2 separate regions of the Homo sapiens genome follow, and region 2 is linked to region 1. The links are contacts of gene promoters, found by promoter capture Hi-C in human tissues and cell types (Jung and others, 2019). All regions are on one chromosome and are shown on one strand. Each heading gives the region's core, a stretch centred on a gene start or on the middle of the fragment in contact. The rest is flanking DNA. Distances are from core to core; before and after follow the strand shown.

Region 1 (4,370 bases), core at 1,388-3,887:
ATTTACTTCTTGAATTTTTTGTGCTAAAATATTTGTAACATAAAATTTCCGATTTTAACCATTCTGAAGTGTACAATTCGGCAGCATTTATTACACCAGCAATGTTGTGCAACCATCACCACTATCAGTTTCCAAAATTTTTTCATCACCCCAAACAGGAACTCTGTACCCATTAAGCAATCACTTCCCATTTCTTGCTTCTCCCAGCCCCTAGTAAAGTCTAACCTACTTTTTCTTCTATGCATTTGCCTATTCTCTAGATACTTTATTATAAGTGGAATCAAGTAATATTTGTCCCTTTATGTCTGGCTTCTTTCACTTAGTATGTTTTCAAGGTTTATTCATGTTGTAGCACGTATCAACTTCATTCCTTTTTATACGTGAATAATATTCCATTGTATGTAGATATCACAGTTTGTTTATCCATTTGTCTGTGGATGGACGCTTGGATTGCTTCTACCTTTTGGATACTGTGAAAATGCTGCTATGAACATTGGTGTACACGTCTCTGAGTCTCTGATTTTAATTCTTTGGGTGTATACCCTGAAGTGGAATTGCTGGGTCAGATGGCAATTCTATGCTTAGCTTTTTGAGGAACGATAAAACTGTTTTCTACAGCAACTGCACCATTTTACATTCTTACTAGCAAGGTAATGTACCAGGGTTCTAACTCTTCCACATCCTTGCCAACATTTCTCTCTCACACACACACACACACACAAATTTGTAGCCATCCTAGTAGGTGTGAAGTGGTGTTTCATTGTGGTATTGATTTGCAAATTTCCCTATTGACATTTTCCAATGGTGTTGAGTGACTTTTTTTTTTTTTTTTTTGACGACGTCTCGCTCTGTTGCCCAGGCTGGAGTGCAGTGGTGCGATCTCAGCTCACTGCAAACTCTGCCTCCCAGGTTCAAGCAATTCTCCTGTCTCAGCCTCCCAAGTAGTAGCTGGGACTGCAGATGCATGCCACCACGCCTGACTAATTTTTGCATTTTTAGAAAATATGGGGTTTCACCATATTCGTATTGGTTAGACTGGTCTCAAACTTCCGGCCTCAGGTGATCCACCCACCTCGGCCTCCCAAGGTGCTGGGATTACAGGTGTGAGTCACTCCCCAGCCTTGAGTATCTTTTATGTGCTTTTTGGCACTTTATGTATATTTTTTGGAGAAATGTCTATTTAAATCCTTTGCCCATGCTTTAATTGTTTGTCTTTTTGTTGTTGTAGTTAGGATATGCTCTGGATAACAACCCTTTATCAGATATAGAATTTGCAAATATTTTCTCCCATTCTGTAGACTGTCTTCACTTTTTTTTTTGAGACAGAGTCTTGTTCTGTCACCCAGGCTGGAGTGCAGTGGTGCGATCTAGGCTCACTGCAACCTCTGCCTCCCAGGTTCAAGCAATTCTCCTGCCTCAGCCTCCGAGTAGCTGGGATTAAAGCATGCGCCACCATGCCTGGCTAATTTTTGTATTTTTAGTAGAGATGGAATTTCACCACATTGGTCAGGCTGGTCTCAAACTCCTGACCTCATGATCCGCCCACCTCAGCCTCCCGAAGTGCTGGGATTACAGGCGTGAGCCACCACGCCTGGCCTGTCTTCATTTTATTAATACTGTCTTTTGATACACAAATGTTCATTCCGATGAAGCCCAATTTATCTAATTTTTCTTTGATTGCTGGTGATTTTGGTGTCATTATCTAAGAATCCATTGCCAAGTTTTACTTGGTTTTGATCTCTAGAAGACTGCCATCATACTGAAGGTAATCTTCTGAAACTTGCGGTTTTCTTTCAAAAATTATGTTTATAAGATGATCCATGTTCTTGCAGAGTTTATTCATTTTATGCTGTATAATATTCCATTATATCCACATACAATGCAGTATTGACCCTTCCTCCTGTTGATGGGCATTTGTCTTGTTTCTAGTTACTTTGCTATTATATCAGTGTCACCATGATTATCCAAAAGTAATTCTTTTGTACACTCTAATTTAAGAACAACTAACCCTTTTTAATGAATAAATCAACCTTGTATTGAGTTGCTACTAAGTTTCAGTTGACTAGTACCTGGGATACACACAGGTGCAGACATTTGACTGAGACATATTGATTTTTCTCATCTGCCTATTTAGGCTAATCACCAGACTATAAAACCATGAGAACCACTGCCATTGAGTATAGTCTGTGTCAGTCTACACTATAGCTTTAACTAGTTGTGTGATTTCTTGCAAAGAGCAATCAGAGAAGACACAATAAACACATTTACTGATTTCAGGCTGGAGAGCTTTTAAGCAATAGGGAGATGGCCACACACAAGGTGGAGAAAATTACTGTGAAAAGGAAGTACTTTCTTTAGAGCCCCACCTAAGCTAGGCTGCAGAAATGTCTACAATGGGTTTGAAAAAACTCAAAATGAGCCTTTCTGCAGTGTGAAAATCCTCCAAGATAAAGAGACAGATTGATGGTTCCTGCCGCCGCCCTGTCCTGCCCAGTTGCTGATTTCAGGAAATACTTTGGCAGGTTTGTGGGTCATAGAGTTGCCAGGTTTCTTGGGATTTGTAATAGAACATCACAAGAAAATCAAGTGTGAAGCAAGAGCTCAACTCTTAACAGGGGTATTGTTTGTGGTTTTGTTACTGGAAAAGATAGTGACCTTACCAGGGCCAAAGTTTGTAGACACAGGAATTACGAAATGGAGAAGGGGGAGAAGTGAGCTAGTGGCAGCATAAAAAGACCAGCAGATGCCCCACAGCACTGCTCTTCCAGAGGCAAGACCAACCAAGATGAGGTGGGTCCACAGCTTTCCCTCCTGCCTTTCCTCTGGTTCTTTATTTCAGTCTTTTTTGCATACATCGGTAGAGATGCAGAAATAGAACAAAGAAACGGGCAAATGGGCTAAATTATAGTGAACCAAAGGGCTTAGTGTGTTAAATCTTCTCCTTTTCTGCATCCATAGAAGACAGTGCTGCTGTCTTTCCCAGGAGATAAGATTTACTCTCAGGAGTGTCTTTTTCCTTCAGGTTACATTTTTGACTTTATAGGGTATGTCATCAGCTCCCGTGGTAGGCTTCCTGGCATCCTGAGTATATTTATTAGCAGATATTTTCCTCTTTAAAAATGTACAATAAGGAAGACTAATAGTAACACATTTGAATGACACAATTAATTGACTAGTACCTGGGATACACACTAATACCTGGGATACATCTAATTAAGGCACTTAGATCTTATAAAAATAAACACTTTTTGAAATGTTGAAATAATAAGACTAGAAACTTTTTTTTTTTTTGAGATGGAGTCTCGCTTTGTCACCAGGCTGCAGTGCAGTGGCATGATCTCGGCTCACTGCAACCTCCACCTCCCAGGTTCAAGTGATTCTCCTGCCTCAGCCTCCCAGGTAGCTGGGACTACAGGCGTGCGCCACTATGCCCACCTAATTTTTGTATTTTTAGTAGAGACGGGCTTTCACCATGTTGGCCAGGATGACCTCGATCTCTTGACCTCGTGATCTGCCTGCCTTGGCCTCCCAAAGTGCTGGGATTACAGGCATGAGCCACCGTGTCTGGCCTAGAAACTATTTTAATAGAAGCAAGTAGTGCCCGAATGGTTGGCATTTGTTAGTGAGATGGTGAACTGGCAGACGGCACCTGTGGGTCAATGCCCATGGCCACCGTCCTGCTTTTGGACACCAGTTCTCTTCCAGGTAACCTTCTGGCATTTTGGGGTTTCAGATACCATTTCCTAAAGGTGAATTATTATAAAATACTAGAAATACCCACGTGTTTAAAATTATATATTTAAGGAACCTTTTATTACGGAAAATATCAAGAAGTAGAGGAATAGCACAGTAAGCCCAAAGTTCCCATCTCTGAGTTATCTACATTTTATTACCACTATCTTTGCGGTGTCTGAGGGAGGTTTCTCTTTCCTGGAGGGCTCCTGTATTATTGCCAATGTACTTTCCTGAATGCAGCCAGAAACTGAGCCCACCCCTCCACCTATGTGCCTTTCTATCCCTCTCTGAAGCTTCTGCAGAATTCCCAGCAGGACAGGGCTTGCTGGAAGCTTGGTATGCTCAGAAGCTGCTAAAGTGTGTATGGGCAGGTGTGGGGGCAATTTCTTGGTCCTAGCACTTCCATATATCGACTTTCTTTTCTGGCTGCTAAGTGGGAGGAGTGTGTGTGTATGCATGTGTGTGTGTGTGTGTGTACATGCATGTGTGTGTGGATGCATGCATGTGCTGTGAAGCAGGGAGACTAGCTTTCCACTCCTCCTTGTCTTCTCTCTGCAGTGCCCTGGGAGCTGTCATTGCCCTCCTGCTCTGGGGACAGCTTTTTGCAGTGGACTCAGGCAATGATGTCACGGATA
Region 2 (4,643 bases), core at 708-3,207, 74 kb after region 1:
GAGCAGAACTGTCAGGGTGCCAGGTCAGGGTCATAGAGGCATTCTCTGTGCCTATAGGAAATGAACAAGAGCCAAGCTCTCTCCTGTCTGCAGCAACCTGCAGAGTCCGTGTTAACACTCACATCTTCACTTCACCACTGTAAAAGGTAGAGCTGTCTTTCCAGGCTCTTTTGCACCCCTCAGCCACATCTCTCTTTCTAGTTAGCATTTCCCTCAAACAGCAGGAGTACCAGCGGTGCTGGGGCATGATATGCCAAGTACACAAAAAAGTCCCTTTCACATACTCTGCAGCCTTTGATAAAGACCTGGAATCCGATTTGAGGTTAGTGGACATGATAACAACATGTCCTTTGTGTTTTATGCCTCACTTAGTTCCTGATGTAATTCACTAGACTTGATGTGCCAGAAAGCAGGACTGTGCCTGTGTTTTGTTTCCTGCTGTTTCCCCATTGCTGTAACTCAGGGCATGGCACATGACAGAGTTTCAGGAAATGCTCAAAAATGGTCTTTGTTCTGTCACGTGAAATATTGCATTTTTGGAGTTAGGGATCAATTGATCAACATGTTAGGGAACATGTAGTTCTGGTAGAAGTGTGTTTAAAAACTGAAGTCTGTTTTCAACATCGTAATGAGTATTCATGGTATAGTTAAAAGGAAGTTGGGATCTGGAGTCAGAAAAATCTGGGTTGAGGTCCAGGTTCTATCATTTACTTATTTCTCTAGCCTCAGTTTCTGCTTCCACAAATTGAAATCATTTTAACTGTTTCGTGGAGTTTTTATGATGATCAAATGAGGTGATATGTGTAAAAAGGGCTTTGTTTTACTATACGACTATGAGTTACTGTCACAGACACACACAGAAACTAGCCTTCTTATATACTTTAAGTACAGGACAGAGATCTGCTTCTGAGTCTGGAAGCCAGAGGGAGACCTCAGAAATTCATATGCCTGACTTGTATTCTTTGGTATTCTAGCACACCTGCATCTGAAAGTGGCCATGCACACAGAAACACATTCTTTTGGGTTTTCTTGTTTTATCTCCAGTAACTGATCAGTGCTTCAAGTTTATTACTTTTTCAGATACAATTTTGAGTACCTCTGGCCCTGGGAATTAGTGAGATGAAAAGTGGTAAATTGGACTTCTGACACCATATTTTACATGCCCTGGTGGTGAAACTATTCCTAAAGATGAAATAATTTGGTCTTCTGAAAACAGAAGTGCATCTTTTCTGGGGACTTCTGAAAAACATGGAGTCAGCAGGGTCTGCCCAGTAAACCAGAGGAATCACTGGAGAAACTATAATTCACTGTCAATGCTTGATAAATGATGGCTGAACTGAGAAATGTCAGTATAGAGGTAAGACACTAAAACTGAGGATGGTGAAAAAAAATTACAGTGAAGCTAGAAGCTAAAATGGAAGCTTTAAAAATTTTTGCTAACATGAGTGGTTTAGCTTGGAGAAAGATTCTAAAAATCTACATATAGAAGTATGTAAATTATAGAACCAAGAAGTTCTAGTAAAAGTTCTAATAAAAGACCTACTCTCTCTGCTGTCAATGGTATTAGGTCTAGATGGTTTTATAGGTGAATTTCATGAAGTCATCATTGATTCCTCACTTTCTCTCACATTCATTCCATCAGCTCAGACATACAACTTTTCCATCATCACAGAAAGGCAGCAAGTTCTACTGGGCAGTGCTATTTTTATACTTAGAAAAGTCATACTACTTTAAGATTTATTTTTATATTATGAGGGAATAAGGGCTGCTTGGCCTTTCATTTGTAGCCCAAGAGACCAACTACCAAGGTGTTATATTTTTCTCTTGCCCAGAAAGATGGAATGGATTTAGCTGGAGAAAGTATGGCTGCTTATGATGAGGGAGAAAGGGAACAGGTGTTAGAGCTGGATAATTCAGGTTCAAATAGTGGTTGATTCCATCACTTGCTGGTCAGTGACTTTGGCCCTCCATCTTTCTTTCCTCTATCATGTCTTTCTTTTTGGCAGTAAAGCAGATGGAAGCCATGTAAAGAGCTTAAGTGGACGACAAATAAATGACGACTGAATTCAAGCACAGTGCTTAGCATATGTCAGATGCTATTTACTCCTTTCTGTCATTTTTACTTGTGTAATGAAAAATAACTGTCCCCCCTTTCATCTCCTTTTTGTGCTTTGTGACAAGTTTTGGAAGTGTTCCCTAGCAAATTGCCCCCCAAAATGGATTCACTCAACTCTGGTCTAAAATGTAACATTGGAAGACTTGATGCCAAAGCCCAAATAGCTTGGGGCTCCACCAGATATGAGATGAGACCTTCCACATATGGAAGAAACATTTCTCTGGCTCAGCAACCAGGTGCCAATGGGGAGGGAAGTAGAGCTGTAGGTGGCCCAGGATCCGCAGTTGGCTGAGCAGTTAGCTGCATTTCTGTGTGGAGGAGAGGTGGGTACAGATTTCAGGTCAAGGGTCACAGGGTTCAAATTCCTCACTCCCTTGGGGTTCCTGTCTACTCACCTCTTTATTCAAGTCTTGGATGACTTGCTGGCTGGTGTTGTATTTGTTGAGAGAGGATTCCAGTTGTGTAGAACAACACTGTAGCTCTGCTCGGAGATTCTCATTTTCTTCCTCCAACTTTCTGGAATTCTCTTTCAACTGTTCCCTCATTAAAGAACAAAGCACAGCAAAGAGGTGTTAATCTCAGATAACTATAAAAGCCCCACTCCACCCTCCCTCTCACCCAGCTCTATCTCCACCCTGCGGGAGCTCAGGCATTCTCGCTCCCCTCCTCGCTGGCCTTTCCCACTGTCCCTCCCGTCTTTCCTAAGCTCTGAGCATCCAGGGCCTCCGCATCCCTGGAGGCCCAGGTGGGGTCATGTCCCGCTCTGGATTCCTGACCCAGCTCTCCTGGGATTCTCCCACTCACCGTCTTGTCTTTCTTTTTAAATTCCTGCCGCAAAGCTTCAAGTTCTCCCTCCATCAGCTTCTCATGCTCTTTGCTCTTCTTCAACTGCTCCCGTTTGTCCTCCAGAAGCTTTGTGGCCTCCTGAAGATCTTCTTCTAACTTGCATTTGATGGAGCCTTGCTCCCTGTGCTGAAAAAATAAAGACTGAGCTGAAAGACTGTCTTAGACTATATTATATTTGGGGGAAAAATACAGACAATTGCACACAGGGCATGGCTGAGATGAAGAAGAAGACAATTCCTTAGTTATATAGCATATGTAAAATAAAAGGTTTCCTCCAACGCCTGTAACATTTTTTCTTTGTTCAGTCAGATATACCAATTTATTTTATTTATTGATCTAATTCCTAAGCACCAGCTTTCTCTCCCACTTTCTTACCAATTCTTCCCAAAGATTAGGAAGATTCCAAATCTTTATCAAAAACCTTTTTGAATGAAGTTTAAAAAATCTTAGAAGAGAACAAAAAGAGTAACTCAGAGATCAAAGACTTTAAATTGACTGACAATTATCTCCTACTGCTGGGCACTATTTAAAAAATAAATAAATTGATAAGAATAGCTTTTGAATCCTAGAAAGAACAACATTGTCATTTGATTAATTTTAAGGTTAACCATTGAAAATGCTTCTTACTGGTAATGGGAGCTGGTGCTGAGTGGCTGGCTTAGCATACTAACACAATTCTGGTCAATTAATTTGCATGGATTGGTGGTGATATCTTTCCCAAATAATGACTGATATGTTTAATCTTTTTCTTTTTTTTGAGACAGGGTCTCACTCTGTCACCTAGGCTGTACTGCAGTGGTGCGATCACAGCTCACTGAAGCCTCAATCTCCCAGCCTCAAGGGATCCTCCCACCTCATCCTCCCAAGTAGCTGGGACTACAGGAATGTGCCATTATGCCCTGATAATGTTTGTATTTTTTTTTTTTTTTGTAAGGCAGGGTCTTGCTATGTTGCCTAGGCTGGTCTGGAACCCCTGGGCTCAAGTGATCTGCCTGCCTTGGCCTCGCAAAGAGCTGAGATTACAGGTGTGAGCCACTGCTCCTAGTCTGTGTTTTATCTTAAGCAGAGCAAGCACTTGAATGGGCCATCTGCCTGCCCGTCATACCTGGTGCTTGATACGATCAAGCATGTCATTCATTTTCATATCCTGCTCAGCCACTGTCTTCTGAAGCTGCCTCTTTTCCTTGTCTGAATTTTCAAGCTTCCTCAGGGCTTCAGAGAGTTCTAATGACAGCTCCTCCACCCGTTTTCTAAAGCAAAATAACAGCCACAGGAGGACAGACTTCAGTGCCCATGTGGGCAGATTGTGGAGCTGACCCAATGGGAAATCCTTGCTCTCCCACGCCTGGGCAGCTGCCCACAGAGGGCCCGGCTGGGTCAAGAGTGACAGAACCTCTCTCTGGAGGGGAGCCTGAGCCTGGGCACCTGTTGGAGGTTTGTTCCTTCTCAGCCATCGAGGACTCCTTCTGCAGCATCTGAAGTTCTCTCTGTAGTTCCTGGATGGTGTCTGCCTTCTGCTTGTCCAGGAGGAGACCCTTCTGCAGTTTCCTCTGGGTGTCCTCCAGGTGACAGCCTGCCAGTGCAGCCTCTTCTTTGCACTGGGCTGCTTGCTGAGCTGCAGAAGCAGGGAGATGGCCATGTGAGAAGGGAGGGTGTATGAAGATCACACTCTTATCAGCCT

The links. Contacts are between HindIII fragments. The study calls those that stand out against the background at their distance.
Region 2: a fragment that was not itself captured here is called in contact with the fragment with the promoter of HP in region 1 in 2 of the 25 tissues and cell types used here (H1 embryonic stem cells and pancreas).

The regions. Positions count from the first base shown.
Region 1 is chr16:72,051,868-72,056,237 of GRCh38, forward strand. It overlaps HP (haptoglobin), which reads left to right and starts at 2,638. Exons shown (of 7, transcript NM_005143.5): 1 at 2,638-2,790; 2 at 4,294-4,370. The coding sequence starts at 2,786. The HindIII fragment of the contact is 10,372 bases long and covers 1-4,370 here.
Region 2 is chr16:72,126,146-72,130,788 of GRCh38, forward strand. PMFBP1 (polyamine modulated factor 1 binding protein 1) reads right to left here. Exons shown (of 21, transcript NM_031293.3): 11 at 4,388-4,577; 12 at 4,068-4,212; 13 at 2,921-3,088; 14 at 2,512-2,649. Among named protein-coding and RNA genes, the nearest start is that of DHX38, 35 kb to the left of the region's middle. RefSeq lists enhancers at 2,249-3,049, 3,879-4,380. The HindIII fragment of the contact is 3,275 bases long and covers 321-3,595 here.